Regions from separate parts of the Homo sapiens genome. Here all the other regions are linked to region 1. Evidence: promoter capture Hi-C in human tissues and cell types (Jung and others, 2019). All regions are on one chromosome and are shown on one strand. Each heading gives the region's core, a stretch centred on a gene start or on the middle of the fragment in contact. The rest is flanking DNA. Distances are from core to core; before and after follow the strand shown. Region 1 holds the start of SYNPO2 (synaptopodin 2). Region 2 overlaps SYNPO2 (synaptopodin 2). Region 3 overlaps SEC24D (SEC24 homolog D, COPII component).

Region 1 (2,918 bases), core at 138-2,637:
GAGGTACTCCTTATAATTTTCCTTTTGCAAACATTTATTCCTTGATTGAATCCACCACCACTACAGCTGCCCTCACTCACTGATTCACCAAAAATTGGGTCCATGATTATCTTGTTTTTATTAATCTTTCTTAAATGCATGTGTAGCTGACATTTATTTCCATGTTTAATATTAGAAGTGTTTTAATCTTATTTAAAAGTTTGGTGATGTCTTTGTGACCAGAAATAGACTGTAGTCACTTAACCTTGTTTTTATCAATTAGTCGATGGTAAAATTGGTTTTAAAGTCACAGTTTCCATGAACCTATCTGTGACGTTTTAAGTGAGGACTTACTGTATATAGTGCTTCTTAGTGCTGAAACAGGCAGCGTGTCTGGAAATTTTGTTTGGTACCACAAGTAACACAAACAAACTTTCCCAGGCTCTTCCTTATTTAGTATGTTTTTATGTGGATGAATGTTATGGAAAACAAAAGTATTATAGGAAAATTAAAATGTCCTTTTTGTACATTTTTGGCAGATTGTATTCAGATTTAAAACATTTAAATATTTGGAATATACAAAATCTGCTTTTATATTGGACCACCCAGATTCATGACATGGGATGACAAACTATAAAAATAAGAAACCTGTAGGTGACATTGTACATTTTATGCAGTTGACTAACTGTTGGGTTTGGGTTTAAGAAGATCAGCAGGTAGAAAGAAAACAAAACACGTTAAAATTTAACATACCCAAAACTATGCAATAGATGTAATTATAAGAATGTAGTTTCCAGGAGAAAAATTCATATTCATTTTCTCTCTTTCTCTCTCCCTTTCTGTCTCTTCTCTTCCCCTTTCTCTAAATATATGGTTCAGAAAGGTACTTTTCAGAGCTGGAGGTTTATTAACAAAAAGTTTGTGCTTTCTTTTGTTTCCTCTTATAGGAATAATTCAGCAGAATGCAGACAGAAAAGTAGTAATTTAACTCATTTTAACTCTTTTTTGTCTATTCCATTCATAAATGTGGCAAGTCTCAAAACATTTATTTGAGAGAATCTAATCCTCTAGTAGTTGAATTCCCAACGCTCCTATTTTAGGACGTCATTCATGGCGTGGAGATTAAACCTTCATGTGTCCTTTACTATTTACAGAATTATTAAATGTAAGTTTTTCAATCATACTTATACCATTAACTGCTTGGATTTAATCTGTTAGTGCAAGATAACTTTGGCTCTCCCTTCCGTCCTCCTTTCCCTTATCTCGCCCCACGTGAGGACATTCTCCTGTGTGTGAAGCTGCTTTCCTTTCCTCGAAGGTGGGCCGAGCAAAGGAGAGTGACGCAAGAGTGGGCTGTGTCCTGGATGCTGCGAGCGCCTCTGCCTCCTTGAGAATGAGCCCATTAGCCGCACAAATTCGCAGCAGGCGGCTGGGGCGGCGGCTGGGGCAGCGGCTGCAGCAGCGGCGGACGCTCTGCATTACCCAGTCTTGCGTCCTCGGCAGGCGCCCGAAGCTGAGTGCGCATCCTCTACCGCACCCAAGCTTCGTCTGTCTCGTCAAGCTCTTCATGCTGCCCAACTAAAAGGAAAACATGGGCACAGGGGATTTTATCTGCATTTCCATGACTGGAGGGGCGCCCTGGGGGTTCAGATTGCAAGGTGGCAAGGAGCAGAAGCAGCCCTTACAAGTTGCAAAGGTAGGACCTGAACGAAGTGTCACGGCTCTGTGCTAGGAAGGAAGGAATGAAAGCAACCTGCTGATGGTGTTTTCAGGTTCTGATGCAGAAGTCTAAGTATTATTTGATTTTGCTGCGGATATTAAGATTTTTCTAGGAAGTGAGTTATTTTCTAAGAAACTTTGGAGAGTAATGGGCCACATCCTATGTAATTAACTTGCAATCGATGAGGGGTGGGTGGGAAGAATGCCATATTTATCAGCTGAGGAAAAGGCCTAGTTAACCATGTTCTTCTGACAACAAGCAAGACACTGGGGAGCGTTTCTTCCAGGCAATTTTAGAATGTTCAGTTGAGTTATTGTTTGATGTCACTTCACTTGGCTCTGGCAGAGGAGAAACGCTCAGTTCAGCATAACGACTTTGCTTGGCTATTTTGGGGACTCATATAGAGTGTTGGTAGTGACATTTATTATGCAGCATTCATGAAAAGGCCAATGTTGGGCAATAATTTTAAAAGTATGATGAAGTGTCATAAAATCTATTTAAAAGAATACCCTTTTAAGGATTTGACAAATAAATGCAAAAATCCAATAAATGCTGTATTCCTTCTTATGTACTCTTTTGGTCAAGATCTCAAAAATAAACTTAGAAGATAATCTAAATATATTATGAGTAACTAAGAGGTAACTTTGTAACACATTAATAACTATTTAAAATGCTTTAAGTTTTTATTGCCATTAGATTGCCTGCATTACTGGTTAGCCCAAGGGGATCTGGTATTCTCTAATTGGCATTCAGCTAAAATAAAACTTAAAATGCACAAAACTAAGCAAACTTTTACCTAACCTTATCATCAAATTGCAAATTATAGTATTGTATTGAAGAACATGCAAGAGCATGGGATTAATTTCCTATTTTATGCTTATATTAAAAATGGGTACAGATCTTTATGAAATACATGGGCCATTGCCTTTGTAGTTATTGTTTGTTTCCCTCTGGCTTTTACTCTTTTTTTTTTGTAGTTATTGTTTCCCTCTGCCTTTTACGTTTTTTTTTTTTTAGTGTCCTTTGCGAAGAAAGAAGTTTCTTTGAAACTCCTTTTTGCTTCCAGGCATCATATGTAAATCCTTTCGTAATGTGATGGTGGAATCCTGCCACCTAGTGAAAATTGCAAACATCAAGAATGAACCATAAAACAGTAGATGAAAAGCAGAGTTTTTATTACTGGAAAGTTCCTCCGAGGTCTGCAGTTCAACCCATGAAT
Region 2 (2,918 bases), core at 179-2,678, 89 kb after region 1:
TCACTGACTTCAAGAATGAAGCCGCGGACTCTCGCGGTGAGTGTTACAGCTCTTAAGTTGGCACGTCTGGAGTCTGTCCCTTCTGATGTTCAGATGTGTTCGGAGTTTTTTCCTTCTGGTGGGTTCGTGGTCTCGCTGGCTCAGGAGTGAAGCTGCAGACCTTTGCAGTGAGTGTTACAGCTCTTAAGGCAGCGCGTCTGGAGTTATTCATTCCTCCCGCTGGGCTCGTGGTCTCAAGAGTGAAGCTGCAGATCTTCGCGGTGAGTGTTACAGCTCATAAAAGCAGCGTGGACCCAAAGAGTGAGCAGTAGCAAGATTTATTGCAAAGTGCAAAAGAACAAAGCTTCCACACTGTGGAAGGGGACCCTAGCGGGTTGCCAATGCTGGCTAGGGCAGCCTGCTTTTATTCTCTTATCTGGCCCCACCCACAACCTGCTGATTGGTAGAGCCGAGTGGCCTGTTTTGTCAGGGCGCTGATTGGTGCATTTACAATCCCTGAGCTAGATACAAAGGTTCTCCACGTCCCCATCAGATTAGTTAGATACAGAGTTTCCACACACAGGTTCTCCAAGGCCCCACCAGAGCAGCTAGATACAGAGTGTCGATTGGTGCATTCACAAACCTTGAGCTAAACACAGGGTGCTGACTGGTGTGTTTACAAACCTTGAGCTAGATACAGAATGCCGATTGGTGTATTTACAATACTTGAGCTAGACATAAAGGTTCTCCACGTCCTCACCAGAGCAGCTAGATACAGAGTGTCGATTGGTGCACTCACAAACCTTGAGCTAAACACAGGGTGCTGATTGGTGTATTTACAATCCCTGAGCTAGATAATAAAGACTCTCCACGTCCCCACCAGACTCAGGAACCCAGCTGGCTTCACCTAGAGGATCCCGCACCGGGGCTGCAGCTGGAGCTGCCTGCCAGTCCGGCGCCGTGCGCTCGCATTCCTCAGCCCTTGGGTGGTCGATGGGACTGGGCGCCGTGGAGCAGGGGGTGGTGCTCGTCAGGGAGGCTCGGGCCGCACAGGAGCCCATGGAGGGGGTGGGAGGCTCAGGCATGGCGGGCTGCAGGTCCCAAGGCCTGCCCCGTGGGAAGGCAGCTAAGGCCCGGGGAGAAATCGAGCGCAGCGCCGGTGGGCCAGCACTGCTGGGGGACTCAGTACACCCTCTGCAGCCACTGGCCTGGGTGCTAAGTCCCCCATTGCCCGAGGCCGCAGGGCTGGCCAGCTGCTCCGAGTGCGGGGCCTGCCAACCCCACGCCCACCCGGAACTCCAGCTGGCCCGCAAGCGCGGCACGCAGCCCCGGTTCCCGCTCACGCCTCTCCCTCCACACCTCCCTGCAAGCTGAGGGAGTGGGCTCCGGCCTTGGACAGCCCAGAAAGGGGCTCCCACAGTGCAGGGGACTGAAGGGCTCCTCAAATGCCACCAAAGTGGGAGCCCAGGCAGGGGAGGTGCCGAGAGCAAGCGAGGGCTCTGAGGACTGCCAGCATGCTGTCACCTCTCAACTTGAGGAGACACTAGCCTTGTGGGTGGGATCCAGCCATTCTCCTGATGGCAGGGAAGAGCTTCAGAGGCTAGAAATCAGACATGTCTGGATCATAATCCTACCTTGTCTGTGGAGCATCAACTCTGCCCTATAGAAATTTCTGCATTATGTAGGCCTTCTTTGAACGTATATCATGGTGAGTAGTGCTTGACCTTGTACAGTGTTAGCAATCCCACTTTTGACATCTCTAAAGCAACCCTGTAGGTTTATGGCATTGCCACTTATAATTTTGCAAAGACATAACTTCCACTCAGGAGTTCTGCAAGCCTGGTTCCAGGTAGTAGGTTACTAGCCAAGTGAGTGAACCCAGCAAATAGGACCTCATATATAGTCCAACATAGTTTTGTTGTTATCAAGTTGCCGTTGCATGAATATTTTATGAGGGAATTATATGCTACTGTAGAATTTGTGGATTGGGAATTTTCTAAGATCTTTGGGTGAATTCCTTGAAAACGTCAATGGCTTATGATGTCATAACTTATTGATTTTCTAGTTGCAACTTGCTTCTTGGCCAGATTTGCCCATCTAAATTTCAAGCTTCTCTAGGAATGAGCCAAGTCACATCTTTCCCTTTGTTCCCCACAATTTAGCCCAAAGTTGCCCTCAAAGCAAGCATTTAACCTGCAGTTGCTGATTGATTGAATTACTGTATCTTGTTGTCATTTTATTTACTTTTTAGAATTCTAGATAATCATTTTCTCTAATTGTTCAGTTGCATCAAAAATAAAATATGACCGTTTCCCTAGCATAGTAAAAAGTGCAGTAAAACACAAAAGAGTTGGGTCTAGCATTAATTTTTTGACAAGAAAAACATGACAAACCATTTGCAGGGAAACTTCGGCTATACCTTATCCTCGTCACCAGTTGGCTTATGAATAATCAGGGTAATTTATATTACCTTGTTCTGTTTACTATATATATGTGTATTCCAATGGATTTTCCACTTGTCCCAATGATTTCCTGAAACGGAAAAACATTCAACTTCATTTACAAGGTAATGATTATCAGTGCCCAATCAAATCTCCCTGCTTCCAGATTTTTTAAAAAATGTTATTTATTTTGAGAAATGATGCCAGGACTTTAAGACTAATCATAGGTACAAATATACCTGTGTATTTCATGTGAAATACTCCTGCCATGACACACACACACACACACACACACACACACACACACACACTTAGCCCATTTGTTGAAAAGTGCCTGTAACCTTTTTATGTATAGGACTCCCTTGTCCAACTTATTGTTTTATCCTATGTAGTGCCCTTGAATTGAATTCTGCTTTTCAATAACACTGGCCCGCACACATAGCGCATTCTTACATCATTTCTGATGCCATTGCTCTAGTTGAAATCTTTATTGTTTAA
Region 3 (2,918 bases), core at 123-2,622, 75 kb before region 1:
GGCAGCCAGACGTGGAGAGGAGCACATCAGCGGATAAAGATACAAGCAGCTGGACAGCGAGAGGACGTGGAGGGAGAATGCCAGTGGAAGAGCACACTGACAGACATGGGAAGAGGCGGAGTTTGGCCGGGGCAGTCGGAGACCCAGGGCCACTGAGTGGTGGGACTCCAGAGGAAAATCATCTCCCTCTGGCTCCCCCACCTGCTGAGAGCTACTTCTACTCAATAAAACCTTGCACTCATTCTCCAAGCCCATGTGTGATCCAATTCTTCCAGTACAGCAAGGCAAAAACCTGGGATACAGAAATCCCTCTGTCCTTGTGATAAGGAAGGGGTCTAATTGAGCTGGTTAATACAAGTCACCTATAGACGGCAAACTAAAAGAGCACCCTGTAACACACGCCCACTGGGACTTCAGCTGTAAACATTCACCCCTAGACACTGCCATGGGAGTCGGAGCCCCACAGCCTGCCCATCTGTATCCTCCCCTAGAGATTTGAGCTTTGGAGCACTGAAGAAGCGAGCCACACCCCCACTGCATGCCCTCCAAGGGGCACGAGGGAACCTTTTCCATTTCATTACCTCATATGGCAAAATAATTTTATTAAGTTAAGGATCTTCAGAGGAGGAGCTTATCCTGGCCCTGAATGGAATCACATGTATAAGAAAGAGGCAGAGGAATTTTGAGACAGACACCCAGAGAAGAAGACACAAAGAGAAGGAGGACTCAATGTGACCACAGAAGCAGAGACTGGAGTCACATGGTCACAAGCCAAGGAAGACCTGGAGCCACCAGAAGCTGAAAGAGCCTAGGAACAGATTCTCCTCTACAGCCTTCAGGGGCAGCACAGCCCTGCTTAGTCCGTTTTTCATTGCTTATAACACCTGAAACAGTAATTTATAAAGAAAAGACATTTATTTCTTATAGCTATGGAGGCTAAGACGTCCCAGGTTGAGGGGCCACATGTGGTGACAGCCTTCTTCTGGTGGAGACTCTGCAGAATCCCAAAGCGGCACAGAGCATGACATGGCAAAGGGGCTGAGCGTGCTAGCTCAGGTCTCTTTTCTTCTTCTTATAAGGCCACCAGTTCCACTCCCATGATAACCTATTAATCCATTAACCCACTAATCCATGAACGGATTAATCCATTCACAAGGGCAGAGCCCTTACGACCCAATCATCTCTCAACACTGCCACACTGGAGATTAAGTTTCAACATGAGTTTTGGAGAAGACAAATGTTCAAACCACAGCACTTGCCAACATATTGATTTTGGACTTTTGGTCCCCAGAACTGTGAGAGAATACATTTCTGTTGTTTTTAGTCACCTGATTTGTGGTAATTTGTTACAGCAGCCACAGGAAACTAATACATTATCCTAAACCATCCACACTCTAGCCAAGCCTCCAGCTGACCCCAGATGCATGAGCAAGCTCAGCCAAAATCAGATGAACCTGGCCCAGATTAGAAAAACCGGGAACCCACTGGGTCATGAGTATTAATAAACAGTAGTGCTAAGCTACTGTTTTGTAGCAGTTGGTTACACAGCATAAGTTAGCTAATATGGTAGCTTTTCCTGCTCCTTTATTTCTAATTCTTCAAGTACTTATGTTTATCGAACCTATTCAAAGACACAAAATAAACTGTAGCCAATTTCGTTATTATTCCAAAAGGATTTTACATCCCAATGCCATAAGATTGGCAGCTTCCCTGTCTCAGTGACATTGGGCTTTGTTTTATGACTTGCTTCAGCCAAGGGCACATGAGTGGTTATGACACATGCCACACATGAGTGGAAGCTTTAAGAGCTGTTGCACATTTTGGCCAGCTCTGTTTCCTCCCTATGCCACAAAATAGCATGTCCTCAGTAGTGTTTGCCTCTTCACGCTGGATTTTGGAATGATAAGGACGGATGAAGCAGAGCCTAAATCCAATCTGCAGCTGCCACAGCCTACATGTAAACTGAGTGATAAATACATCTTTGCAGTTGTAAGCAAAGTTGGGGATTGTTTGCTATGCAGAATGGCCTTGCAAAGCTTGACTGATAAAATTATTAAAGAGTAACCCTCCAAAGAAATCACTTGAGTGAAGAGTTTAGTTCTAACTTTACATTAAAAAAAATTTGTTTTTTTATTGTGCAAGATGTAAAATATACTTTCAGTCTCTATGGGTTTCTCTTATTGAAAAGGATCCTTTAGTTATCTAAAATAGCATATTTCTATAGGATATAGTCTGTTAATTACTCATTAGATAGCGATACTGCCAAAATATGTCAATGTAAACATTGTAGACACTGCCAAGTTTATATGACACCAAAAAAAAAGAAAAAAAAAATCAGCACAGGCTGCTCTTTCATGGAGACCTTTAGTATGCCCATAACCCTAGCATGCTTTCCCCCATACATGCATATAAGGAAGGAAGCCTTCCCTCTATGTGATGAGTATCTCCTAACTTCTATGCTAATGAACAGGATAAATGCTAACAAACTGATGAGTTGCTGAGAAAAATTAATGCTCCTTTGTGAGTGAGACTGTGAGAGTGAGAAGAGTACTTACTGGGCTAGGGATAGAGTCAGGATCCAGCTTCTTCTGGGGCTGTGGCGGACCAGCCATCTGTGCAGGACCTCCAGGGAAGCCTCCTGGGTAAGACAGTTGTGCGCCTGCCATCTGGGGACCAGAGTTGGCTGCTTGGAAAAAATTTAAAGAGAAATGACTATCATCCCAAATCCAGCATGTAAGACTTGTTGACGATATTATGCTGTTCAGTCAAGCATGTTGTATTTTTCATCTTATTAAAAAAAGCAAGGAGTCAAGTATGAGTGTGGTTCCCCATTTCTTTGCTCTTGCCAAAACTCTTCAAAAACTACCATTTCTTAAAAGTAAGTGACAGATACCTAGTAACATAGGAACAAAGCTGAT

What was found. Contacts are between HindIII fragments. The study calls those that stand out against the background at their distance.
Region 2: a contact is called between a fragment that was not itself captured here and the fragment with the promoter of SYNPO2 in region 1, in 2 of the 25 tissues and cell types used here (aorta and bladder).
Region 3: a fragment that was not itself captured here is called in contact with the fragment with the promoter of SYNPO2 in region 1 in 2 of the 25 tissues and cell types used here (IMR-90 fibroblasts and aorta).

Annotation. Positions count from the first base shown.
Region 1 is chr4:118,887,467-118,890,384 of GRCh38, forward strand. SYNPO2 (synaptopodin 2) reads left to right here and starts at 1,388. Exons shown (of 5, transcript NM_133477.3): 1 at 1,388-1,675. The coding sequence starts at 1,571. The HindIII fragment of the contact is 17,765 bases long and covers 1-2,918 here.
Region 2 is chr4:118,976,102-118,979,019 of GRCh38, forward strand. All of the region lies in intron 1 of SYNPO2 (synaptopodin 2), which reads left to right. SYNPO2-AS1 (SYNPO2 antisense RNA 1) reads right to left here. Exons shown (of 3, transcript XR_939120.3): 2 at 2,450-2,511. Among named protein-coding and RNA genes, the nearest start is that of SYNPO2-AS1, 7.2 kb to the right of the region's middle. The HindIII fragment of the contact is 3,224 bases long and covers 1-2,918 here.
Region 3 is chr4:118,812,473-118,815,390 of GRCh38, forward strand. It overlaps SEC24D (SEC24 homolog D, COPII component), which reads right to left. Exons shown (of 23, transcript NM_014822.4): 6 at 2,556-2,683. Among named protein-coding and RNA genes, the nearest start is that of SEC24D, 22 kb to the right of the region's middle. The HindIII fragment of the contact is 4,377 bases long and covers 1-2,918 here.